3 separate regions of the Homo sapiens genome follow, and regions 2 and 3 are each linked to region 1. The links are contacts of gene promoters, found by promoter capture Hi-C in blood cells and fetal thymus (Javierre and others, 2016). All regions are on one chromosome and are shown on one strand. The core of a region is centred on a gene start or on the middle of the fragment in contact, and the rest is flanking DNA. Distances in the headings are between cores, read along the strand shown.

Region 1 (2,879 bases), core at 72-2,571:
CCCTCCCCCTGCCCCCTCCCTTCCCCACCCCCATCAACAAACTCCGCCGGGACATTTCAGTACCACCACTCCCTAGCCCGGCGAAGCGCAGGGGCGTGCTGGGGAGGAGTAAAGAGGGTGGGGCGGAAACCCAATTTCATTGTTCGCGGGACCGATTCTTCCCAAAAGAGCTCGCTGGCAGCGCCTGCGCAGTGCGCCCTCTTTGTGCCAGGCTGCAGCAAGCTGGTTGTTTGTGTGTGTCTACCCGAAGCTGCGGAGGCGGAGCGAGGGGGCGTGGCCTGCCTTGTCGCACTCTAATTGGGCTTTCGCAGGAAAGTGGGCGGGCGCGGGGCGGAGCTTCCGATAACAACACTCGGAGCTGGGGCTGTGGCTATTTGTTGCTGCGCCGCCACCGCCCGAGTCATGTTCCGCGATCTTCTCAGGCTCTCCTAGCAGCATCCATCGCCGCCACCCTATCTTCACTGGCTTCATTCACCTTCTCCTTCTCTCTTCGTTGCTGAGCGACAAGCTTCCTAGCGCTATGACTGTCGTCTCCGTCCCGCAGCGGGAGCCGCTCGTCCTGGGTGGCCGCCTTGCGCCGCTTGGCTTTTCCTCCCGAGGTTACTTTGGGGCCCTCCCGATGGTGACCACGGCTCCGCCTCCTTTACCCCGGATCCCGGACCCCCGGGCACTGCCCCCGACCCTCTTCCTCCCTCATTTCCTAGGGGGAGATGGCCCGTGTCTGACCCCCCAGCCTCGCGCTCCAGCAGCTCTGCCCAACCGCAGCCTCGCCGTGGCGGGAGGCACTCCTCGGGCAGCGCCGAAGAAGCGGCGAAAGAAGAAGGTGCGGGCCAGCCCCGCAGGGCAGCTGCCCAGCCGCTTCCACCAGTACCAGCAGCACCGGCCGAGTCTGGAGGGCGGCCGGAGCCCCGCGACCGGCCCGAGCGGAGCGCAGGAGGTCCCGGGCCCGGCCGCCGCCTTGGCCCCGAGTCCTGCAGCCGCAGCCGGCACGGAGGGAGCCAGCCCCGACCTTGCCCCGCTGCGGCCCGCGGCTCCCGGCCAAACCCCCCTCAGGAAAGAGGTGAGGCCGCCAGGGGGCCGTTGGGGAGTCGGGCCCTTAGACGGTCGCGGCCGAGCTCTGGGGCTGCAGACCCTGCACCCGGGGGGTCGGGCGGGTGGGGGCGGGGTGGGGGGGGCGGCTGTTTACTCGGGAGGGAAGTTTCCGTGACGCCCGCTCCATTCTTGCTTTGGGGGAAGAAGGGGGAAGGGGAGGCATGCGCTGGCGCTTCTGATTGGCTCCCAGGAGTCGGCCAATGAGAAGCGCCGCTGCGCCCCAGCAACAGCCCCGATTTAGAAGGCTGGCGGCGTTCCAGGGGGTTTCGGCGTTCCGGGCGCGCGGCGGGGTGGGGGCAGGGACAGGGCCCGCGGGAGGGCTGACGTCAGCGCGCGCTACGTGCCCGGCGCTCCGGCGCCCATGAAGGAGGCGAGGCCGGGTGGGGGCAGCTGGGGAAGGACTGGGCCCGGCTTTCGGCCTCCCGGCTATCGGGAGCCCCAGTCCTAGTCGGTGAAACGCGGAGACGGCCTCTAACGTCCCGCCGTAGGGGGTGGAGTGGGCTCCGAGCGGCTGGGTTTCGTTTGGTTGGAGTTGTGCCAAAATGTGAGGTGCCCGGTGTGGGACGCGCAGTCCAGTTGGGGCTCTGCCCGCCTCGGGCCTGACCTACTTAGTGGTTCCAAGTTAAGAGTTGGCAGGAGCCGCACAAAACTGATTTTATTACTTTTGCCACTGTGGTACTTCGTGTTAGTGTGTCCAGAGTAAGTTTTCAGAAGAGTTAGCAATTGAATTGACTTAGCCCGTCTGATTGCAGTGCTATTGCATTAGGATAAAATGGATAGAAGTTTAAATAGGATTAAGTCTACGAAATGATTTCAAAGTCTTGTCAGAATAACGTTTTATGGACTTAAGTTCAATGACTTAATCTTCGTAATAATGAAATGAAAAAGTTCCCGTTATTTAGTGAAGAATGTTGCATTGAATTAGAGATTTGCGGTTTATCTGTGCCCTTGGGAAAAAATTTGCCCACCTTGTTTCTTTAAATTATCGTCTCAATGTCTCCCTTTTAAAATTCCACGACTTTTGAAATATCCGTGATTACCTAAAAGCTTTTGTGCTTGTTTCCTGGCCTGTTTTCTAGAACAGGTACTAACTAGGGAGCTCTGGCAGTGAACCTTATTGACGTGGAAAGTTGTGGTCCTCTTTCGTGTCGTGTCTTGCTTACTACCGCGTTACAAGTGTTGGTAGTGCAGTGATCTAGTGGATTACCTTACGCTTTTCCATCCTTTCAAGACTTCCTATAAGGCCCACTTAAGTTGGGAAAGATTAAGGTGAGTGAAGCAGCGTTCTTGAAGCAGTTACTAAACCAGAAAGGAGGTACACAGCAAAGATTGTTTCTGGCACTCGTATTTGGAAGAGAGCTCATTAGTCTTCCTTACAGTTGTAGAAAGGTGGACTTGGGTTATTTCAGACTTTTTTTAGTTTGACATTTTAGAACTGGTTCACGTTGCATACTGGTAACTAGCAGTGGTGATTAACTGCATTTTTAGTGGCGAACAAGAGTGAACTTAAAAGTCAAGGGAAATTTAAGTTTTTTGTTGTTTTTTTTTTCTTGAGACAGAGTCTGCCTCTATCGCACTCCAGGCTGGAATGCAGTGGCACGATCGATCTCTGCTCACTGCATCCTCCCCTTCCCAGGCTGAAGGGATCCCGCCTCAGCCAGCCTCCCGAGGCGCGTGTTACCACGCCGGGCTGATTTTTATATTTGTAGTAGACATGGGGTTTCGCTATGTTGCCCAGGCTGGTCTCGAACTCCTTGAGCTTGAGCGATCTGCTTGCCTTGACCTCC
Region 2 (2,890 bases), core at 152-2,651, 1.2 Mb after region 1:
TCGCTCCAGTCTCTCCCCTCGTGGGCACCTAGGGTAGCCCGTGAGCGCCGCCCGCCGCCGTCTCCAGCGGCGCCGGGCTCCCGAACACCCGCCGGGTGAGCGAAGCACAGCGGGGCCACGGAGCGCCTCGACGCGGGGACGGGGAGGGCAGTGTCCCCTTCATAAACCAGTCTCCTGGGTGAAGCTTCTGGGGCTTGGAGACTGGAGTGTAGGGTGTGTGTGTGTGTGTGTGTGTGTGTGTGTTGCACCTTGACTTCATGGAGGATCTGTGGGAGAGGAGGTGCAAGGTTTCCCTCTCAGAAGCCTGGCGCCCTTAGGTCTTAGCTACGCGGGACGCTTTCCGACAACCCGATCTTTCGCTAGGAGAGATTCGATCCAGGTCTGCGCCGCGAGGCCCCCAGCTCGCCTCTTCCTGCGACCCTAAACTTGGGCTTTGATTCCCCGCCGGTCGCGGTGGTCCGGGCCACCCGGCGGCGGCTGACAGCTGAGCGCAAAGGCGCCGCGGCCAAGGTCCTCGCGGAGCAGCCCGGGATGCGCACGCCGAGGGTTAAGGAGGAGGCCGCCCGGCCTGGAGCTGGGATCGCAGGCTGGGGGCCGGGACACCCGGGCCTCGCCGGGCCGGGGGCAGGGCCGCGGGTCTGACAGCTGCTGCGGCTCGCGCGGACGCGCGCCTCCTGCAGCCCGCCCTCCCCATGCCTGACTTATTACTCTCTGCTCCTCCTCCCTCTGCTGTTCCAAAACACCCTTCGACGCCAGCAAAATACAATGCGCCTCGGCCGCCGTAAACAGCCGGGAGGGAGAGCACACATTCGGCGCGGCGCGGCCGCCGGCTCGGCTCCCACCCCCTTCCCGTTCCTAGAAAATGCCATAAAAGCGGGCAGGGCGCGGGGAGGGCGGCTGCGCGCCCGGCGGCCGGGGCTCCCTTCCCGCGCCGTTTCCCCACGCCTCCCCGCCCGCCCCGCGCGCCCGCTCCCCCCGCAAACTTGCCCCGCCACCCCGCCCAGCGGCGGGGCCCGGGGCCCGGGGCCCGGGACTCACCTCGCCGGAGAACTTTGCGTCCTTTTCCGCCTCCTCTTCCCCGCGTCTTCCCGGCTCGCAGCCCCCTCCCGGCAGCCGGCGAGGTGGGCAGTTCGTGGGTCACCGAAAGCTCGCGGAGGGGACGCGCATCACATGGCAGCTCGTTCCCAGCCCCCCGAGTGCGCCGGGAAGGGGGAGGGGAAGGGGCGAGGGGAGGCCGGGGGGAAAGCGAGAGCGGGGCGGCGGCGGGAGTGGGCAGGCGGGGTGGCGAGGGCGGCGGCCGCTCACGTTAGCGCTGTGCGACCGCAGCCCGGGCGTGCACGGCCGCTGCTGCCGCTGCTGCTGCTGCTGCTGCTGCTGAGGCGGCGGCGGCTCGGCGCTGTTTGCTCCGCGCCGCGCGGCTTGCGCTCTCCCCGGAACGCCCACACTCTCAATCGCTACATTGTTGACATTCGGCGCTGACGTCACCCGCTCCCCATTCACAATAACTTTACGGGAGCCGGGCAGCGCACCTCCCCGGCCGCTGGGGCGCGGTACGCCCGGCGACTAGCGTAAGCCGCTCCGCGAATGGCGCTCCGGGGGCTGGGGCGGGGGGCGGGGGACGGGGGCGGGCGCGCGCGCTCCGCTGGCTCGCGGGAGGGGGCGCGCCTCATGCCGCCGCAGCAGCAGATCTCCCCGCTTTGTGCGGCCGCGCGGCCCGGAGAGCCCCCTCCTCCCGGCCCGGCTGACCGCCCCGCTCGGCCTGGCCTTCCCGGCCACGAAAGACGAGGGTTGGGGGCATAGCAGGGTGAGAGTAGTGGTGAGGGCTGGTGTGGCACGTGGGGAGGGGGCCAGAGCCCTAGGTGCTGCACCTGGGGAAGGAGAGCAGACGTCGGGACCGGGGATCCCAGGGTTAGCTAGCGTTTTCCCGGAAGGGCAAGAAAAGATGCTCCACTGGCCCCCACAAAGCTGACCGGACTCCCTTTTGGGTGGGGACCGGGCGAGTAAAAGCAGCCTTTTGAATGTTGACTTCTCAATCCTTTTCAGGAGGCCCTCCGCCTGCCCTACTGAGCGAACCTTTAAGCCCCCAAGCCAGTGTTTTTGGAAAGAGAGTGGTCAATTTCAGGAGGACATTAAAAGCCAACCTCCCGGGCTTCAGCCCCAGCTCCTACTGCCTTCCAGCCACTCTCCCCTGCCTTTCCTTTCTGCGGCTCTTAGGATGTTGTTGCTGCCCTTAAAGGCCGTCGTGTGAGTGCCCTGTCAGAAGAAAGCTTGGTGGTGGTTAGGATTTTACAGAAGGTAATTAGGATTTAGGCTGAATGTACATTTGCAATAAAATAAGGTTGTGTTAGTGTTGTGCTGGTGCCTGCAACTTTACCTCTTGCCAAGGCCAGAAAATTCTGCCACGTTTCCCTAAACACCTATAACTTGGCCCTCTTGTGTACAGGCAGTATTCCATATTATTACACGTGGTGCTGATTTTTAATGAATATTATAAAAGTTTGGCTCGCTCTACTGAGAGAAGGATCATAAATCCCCCCTGTAAAACGGGCACTGGCGTATGCTGAGGAAGCAGTGAAGCGTCCTGGGAGTCTTGTGATATCATCTAAAGTGTTGCTCTGAACTACCTTCATTTGAGGGCAGAGTTTTGAAAGGCCCCATTTGGAATGTCTGTGTGGAAAGCTAAGTGATGGCTGAAAGCAAGCTGAAGGTGCTGAGCTAATTTTTCTAACAGCACTGCAGAGTCCCTGCGTGGAGGTCTGGCACGGGACTGTGAGATTTTCTCTGCTAACCGACCCGGCCTTCAGATAAGGAAAAGTCCTAGAGCTAGGAGTAGCCCTCAGTCTCCTGACCTCTGGTCTGGTGCCCCCTAGGACAAAACACCCTGCTTCTG
Region 3 (3,046 bases), core at 526-3,025, 1.4 Mb before region 1:
CACTTCTAGTCCACAAAAGCCTATCCTAGGATTGTGCCAGGGGCACACAAGGATTTCAAAGTACAGAAAAAACTGGGCATACACATGCCCTACAAAGCAGCCAAAAGACATTCCCCAGTCTCTCTCAGGAAATGTTTCAAGATGAAAAGCAAAAGTCTGAAGTCCCTTGGAATCTTGGGTTGATTTCTTCATTATTCTCAAGGCTAGGTTGTTTTCCCCCAGCATACTTTGTTGGGCAAAAATAAAACATTTCCAAATAAAAGCAACTCCTCAGCCCCAATTTTCAATGCAATATGCTTATTAAAAGTTCAACATTTCTCAAGGTCTAGACTTATAGTGTGATCATATTACAGTACTCGGGAAGAGCATTTTCTTTGTTGTTGACCCTGCTAGGGAAACAGGTCTTGACTCAGCCAAAGTGGCGTTCTTGTGGGTGATTAATGACAGGCCTAGATCTCGCCCTAGTGACATCCATCCCCCACCCCCCACCCCCACTATACTAAAATCAGCCGTGTCTGAACTGAAGGAGGGGCTGTAGCCTCGCCTCAAACCACCCAGTCCCAGAGTTAATAGCTGCAACCAATCGATTACGGCAAGCACACATCCAGATTGGGGTGAAATGTGACCCTTTCGCCTAAATTTACGAATAATATCGTCCTCTCTGATCATTTCCGCTGGGGCTCCAGCGACTACGGAAACAATTCCAATCATTCGGCCCAAAGAAAAAGATGTCCCTGTTCTACCCAATACGGGCAAGGCAAAGCCCCTACCCACCTCCAAACACTATCCCCTTGACATCAGCCCATTTCTATTGTGTCTTATTAGGTCCTCGGGCTACGAGGACCTAGTGAAAAACGTGGCTGCCCTACTACTTTGCTAAGAACAAGAACCACACAGTCCGGCACCCCCACCCCAGGGGCCGCATCCCACACCCCAGGACCCCTGTTCCCAGTTCTCTCCACTACCCCGGCGGCCGCGGGGCCGGGTCCCACCTGTGGTGAGGCGGGAGGAGACGTCGCCGAAGGGGGATGGCTCCATTCGGAGATACTTCTGCGGCGAGGCGGCCGCAGCGGAGAAGGAGGCGGCGGTGGCCGCGGCCGCCGACAACGGGGAGGCAGCGGCCGAGGTGGGCGCCGACAATGGCGCACATCGCCTGCGCTTCGGGGACGCCGGGCTCAACAGCGGGTCGAAATCCAGAGTCCTTTTCAGAGTGGCTCCGCACGCCATGGCCGGGGGCAGCTGAGGCGCCGGGCTCGGGTGGGGTCGGGGACGGGTGACGAAAGAAGAGGGTGAGGGAAGGGGTGAAGAGCGGGAACTCGAGGAGAGCCTACCCGACGGGCTCAGGAGCCAAGCGGGTCGCGGAGCGCCGGCTGTGGAAAGGAGAGCCGCTGCCGCCGCTGCCTCCGCGGCAGGGGCAGTGGCCAGGGACGGCCCGGGTGAGAGCGGGAGGGGCGGTGGCGGGCAGAAGCACACGCCAGTCGCGTCAGGGGGGTTCTTCCGCCTCCTCAGGCGCGGCTCCCCCGAGAGAGGCTCCGGCCGCCCCCGCCGTCCGCTCGAGCTTTGCGCCGCGCCTGAGGCGCTTCTGTGCTGAGACTAGATCCTTTCTGAAGTCGAAAACAGCACCGTGGGGTGTGAGGCTGGAACGCGGCTCCTAATACGCCCGAGTACGGTCAGTAGCTTGCGAGCGGCGATCGATGCAGAGAGATTGCGAGGTAGCTGCCGCAGCAGGAACCCAAGCGAACACGTCCAACCGCTTCCCCTCCCTCGTAGAACTCTCCCACCCGCCGCCGGCCCCAATATGGCGTCAATAACAACGCCGCCGATTCAAATCCGGCGGCCTCAGAGCGCTTGCGCACGGGGGCGGGCCAAACCGGGGATGCATTTTGGGAGTTGTAGTTTTTAGGTACCGGGAGGAATCGGCTTGAAAGGCGGGAAGGGAGGAGTCACAGAAACTACGACTTCCGTCATGCAAGGCGCGCGATTCCGAGTTCCGGGTTGGAATTTAAATCCCCCTACACAGCTTGAGTGTAAGAGGAACTAAGCAAAAGAGAAAAAAAGAGAAGGTTCTGAGACAGTGGGAGATGGGAAAGCGAACCCGTGGCAAAAGCAGGCTAAGCGACATAGAAATCTTTTAAGATTCTCCGTATAGTTGCTCCCACAGTGATTTCAGATCTGGGAAATATAATAAACCAATCTCTAGTCAAAGTTAGCTTAATTTCGGTAGCGACAGTACCCAAAACAAGACCTTTCACATGGAGAGGATAGGAGATAATGAGATTATGAAACCTATTTAGGACTGGCAGACAGAACAACAGTAATAGTATCAGGTTACAGGATCCTTGATTCAACTCGATGCTCTACCCTTCGGAGGTAGCTGCTTCATCCACTAATGAAATTCTGTAAAGCCAGCTTTGCTTCTGTAAATGAATAGGACTTGAACGACTTACAGAATCAAATTGTTTTGCGTTGGGTAAAAAGCAAGTGGTATCAGACATTGCATTACTTCTGTTGAATATTGGTGCATATATTGTGAACTTTGTTACAAAACTAATCAAAAGACAGTGAAATGTTTAGGTAATAGATATTGGATGGATCCATTTTGTAAGCGGAAGGGGAAAAAAGTGTTTCTAGAAGTTGTACTTTTAGTCACATACCTAAAATAAGAATCAAATACAGCGCTAATTTAGAAAGTGATCTGTGTAGCCGGGCATGGTGACTCACGCCTGTTATCCCAGCACTTTGGGAGGCCGAGGCAGGCGGATCTTCCTGAGGTCAGGAGTTCGAGACCAGCCTGGTCAAAATGGTGAAACCCCGTCTCTACTAAAAATACAAAATTAGCCGAGCGTGGTGGCGCGCGCCTGTAGTCGCAGCTACTCGGGAGGCTAAGACAGGAGAATCATTTGAACCCGGGAGGCGAAGGTTGCAGTGAGCCGAGATGTTGCCACTGCACTCCAGCCTGGGTGATAGAGCGAGTCTCTGTCTGAAAAAAATGAAAAGAAAAGAAAATGATGCCGGGCGCGGTGGCTAACGCCTGTAATCCCAGCAC

The links. Contacts are between HindIII fragments. The CHiCAGO score rates a contact against its expected background, and 5 or more counts as called.
Region 2: the fragment with the promoter of BACH2 here is called in contact with a fragment that was not itself captured in region 1 in 1 of 17 cell types (fetal thymus); the score reaches 12.7 in fetal thymus.
Region 3: the fragment with the promoter of AKIRIN2 here is called in contact with a fragment that was not itself captured in region 1 in 1 of 17 cell types (fetal thymus); the score reaches 11.1 in fetal thymus.

The regions. Positions count from the first base shown.
Region 1 is chr6:89,080,375-89,083,253 of GRCh38, forward strand. It overlaps PNRC1 (proline rich nuclear receptor coactivator 1), which reads left to right and starts at 377. Exons shown (of 2, transcript NM_006813.3): 1 at 377-1,060. The coding sequence starts at 521. It overlaps PNRC1-DT (PNRC1 divergent transcript), which reads right to left and starts at 206. Exons shown (of 1, transcript NR_187250.1): 1 at 1-206. RefSeq lists silencers at 2-211, 262-411, 802-1,181 and an enhancer at 1,090-2,050. The HindIII fragment of the contact is 1,631 bases long and covers 507-2,137 here.
Region 2 is chr6:90,295,442-90,298,331 of GRCh38, forward strand. BACH2 (BACH transcriptional regulator 2) reads right to left here and starts at 1,402. Exons shown (of 9, transcript NM_021813.4): 1 at 1,039-1,402. It overlaps LOC105377891 (a long non-coding RNA gene), which reads left to right and starts at 1,798. Exons shown (of 7, transcript XR_942778.4): 1 at 1,798-2,295. RefSeq lists silencers at 581-640, 1,266-1,315. The HindIII fragment of the contact is 2,083 bases long and covers 183-2,265 here.
Region 3 is chr6:87,700,458-87,703,503 of GRCh38, forward strand. It overlaps AKIRIN2 (akirin 2), which reads right to left and starts at 1,776. Exons shown (of 5, transcript NM_018064.4): 1 at 993-1,776. The coding sequence starts at 1,227. RefSeq lists silencers at 948-1,157, 1,338-1,507 and enhancers at 1,668-1,727, 2,038-2,347. The HindIII fragment of the contact is 11,354 bases long and covers 1-3,046 here.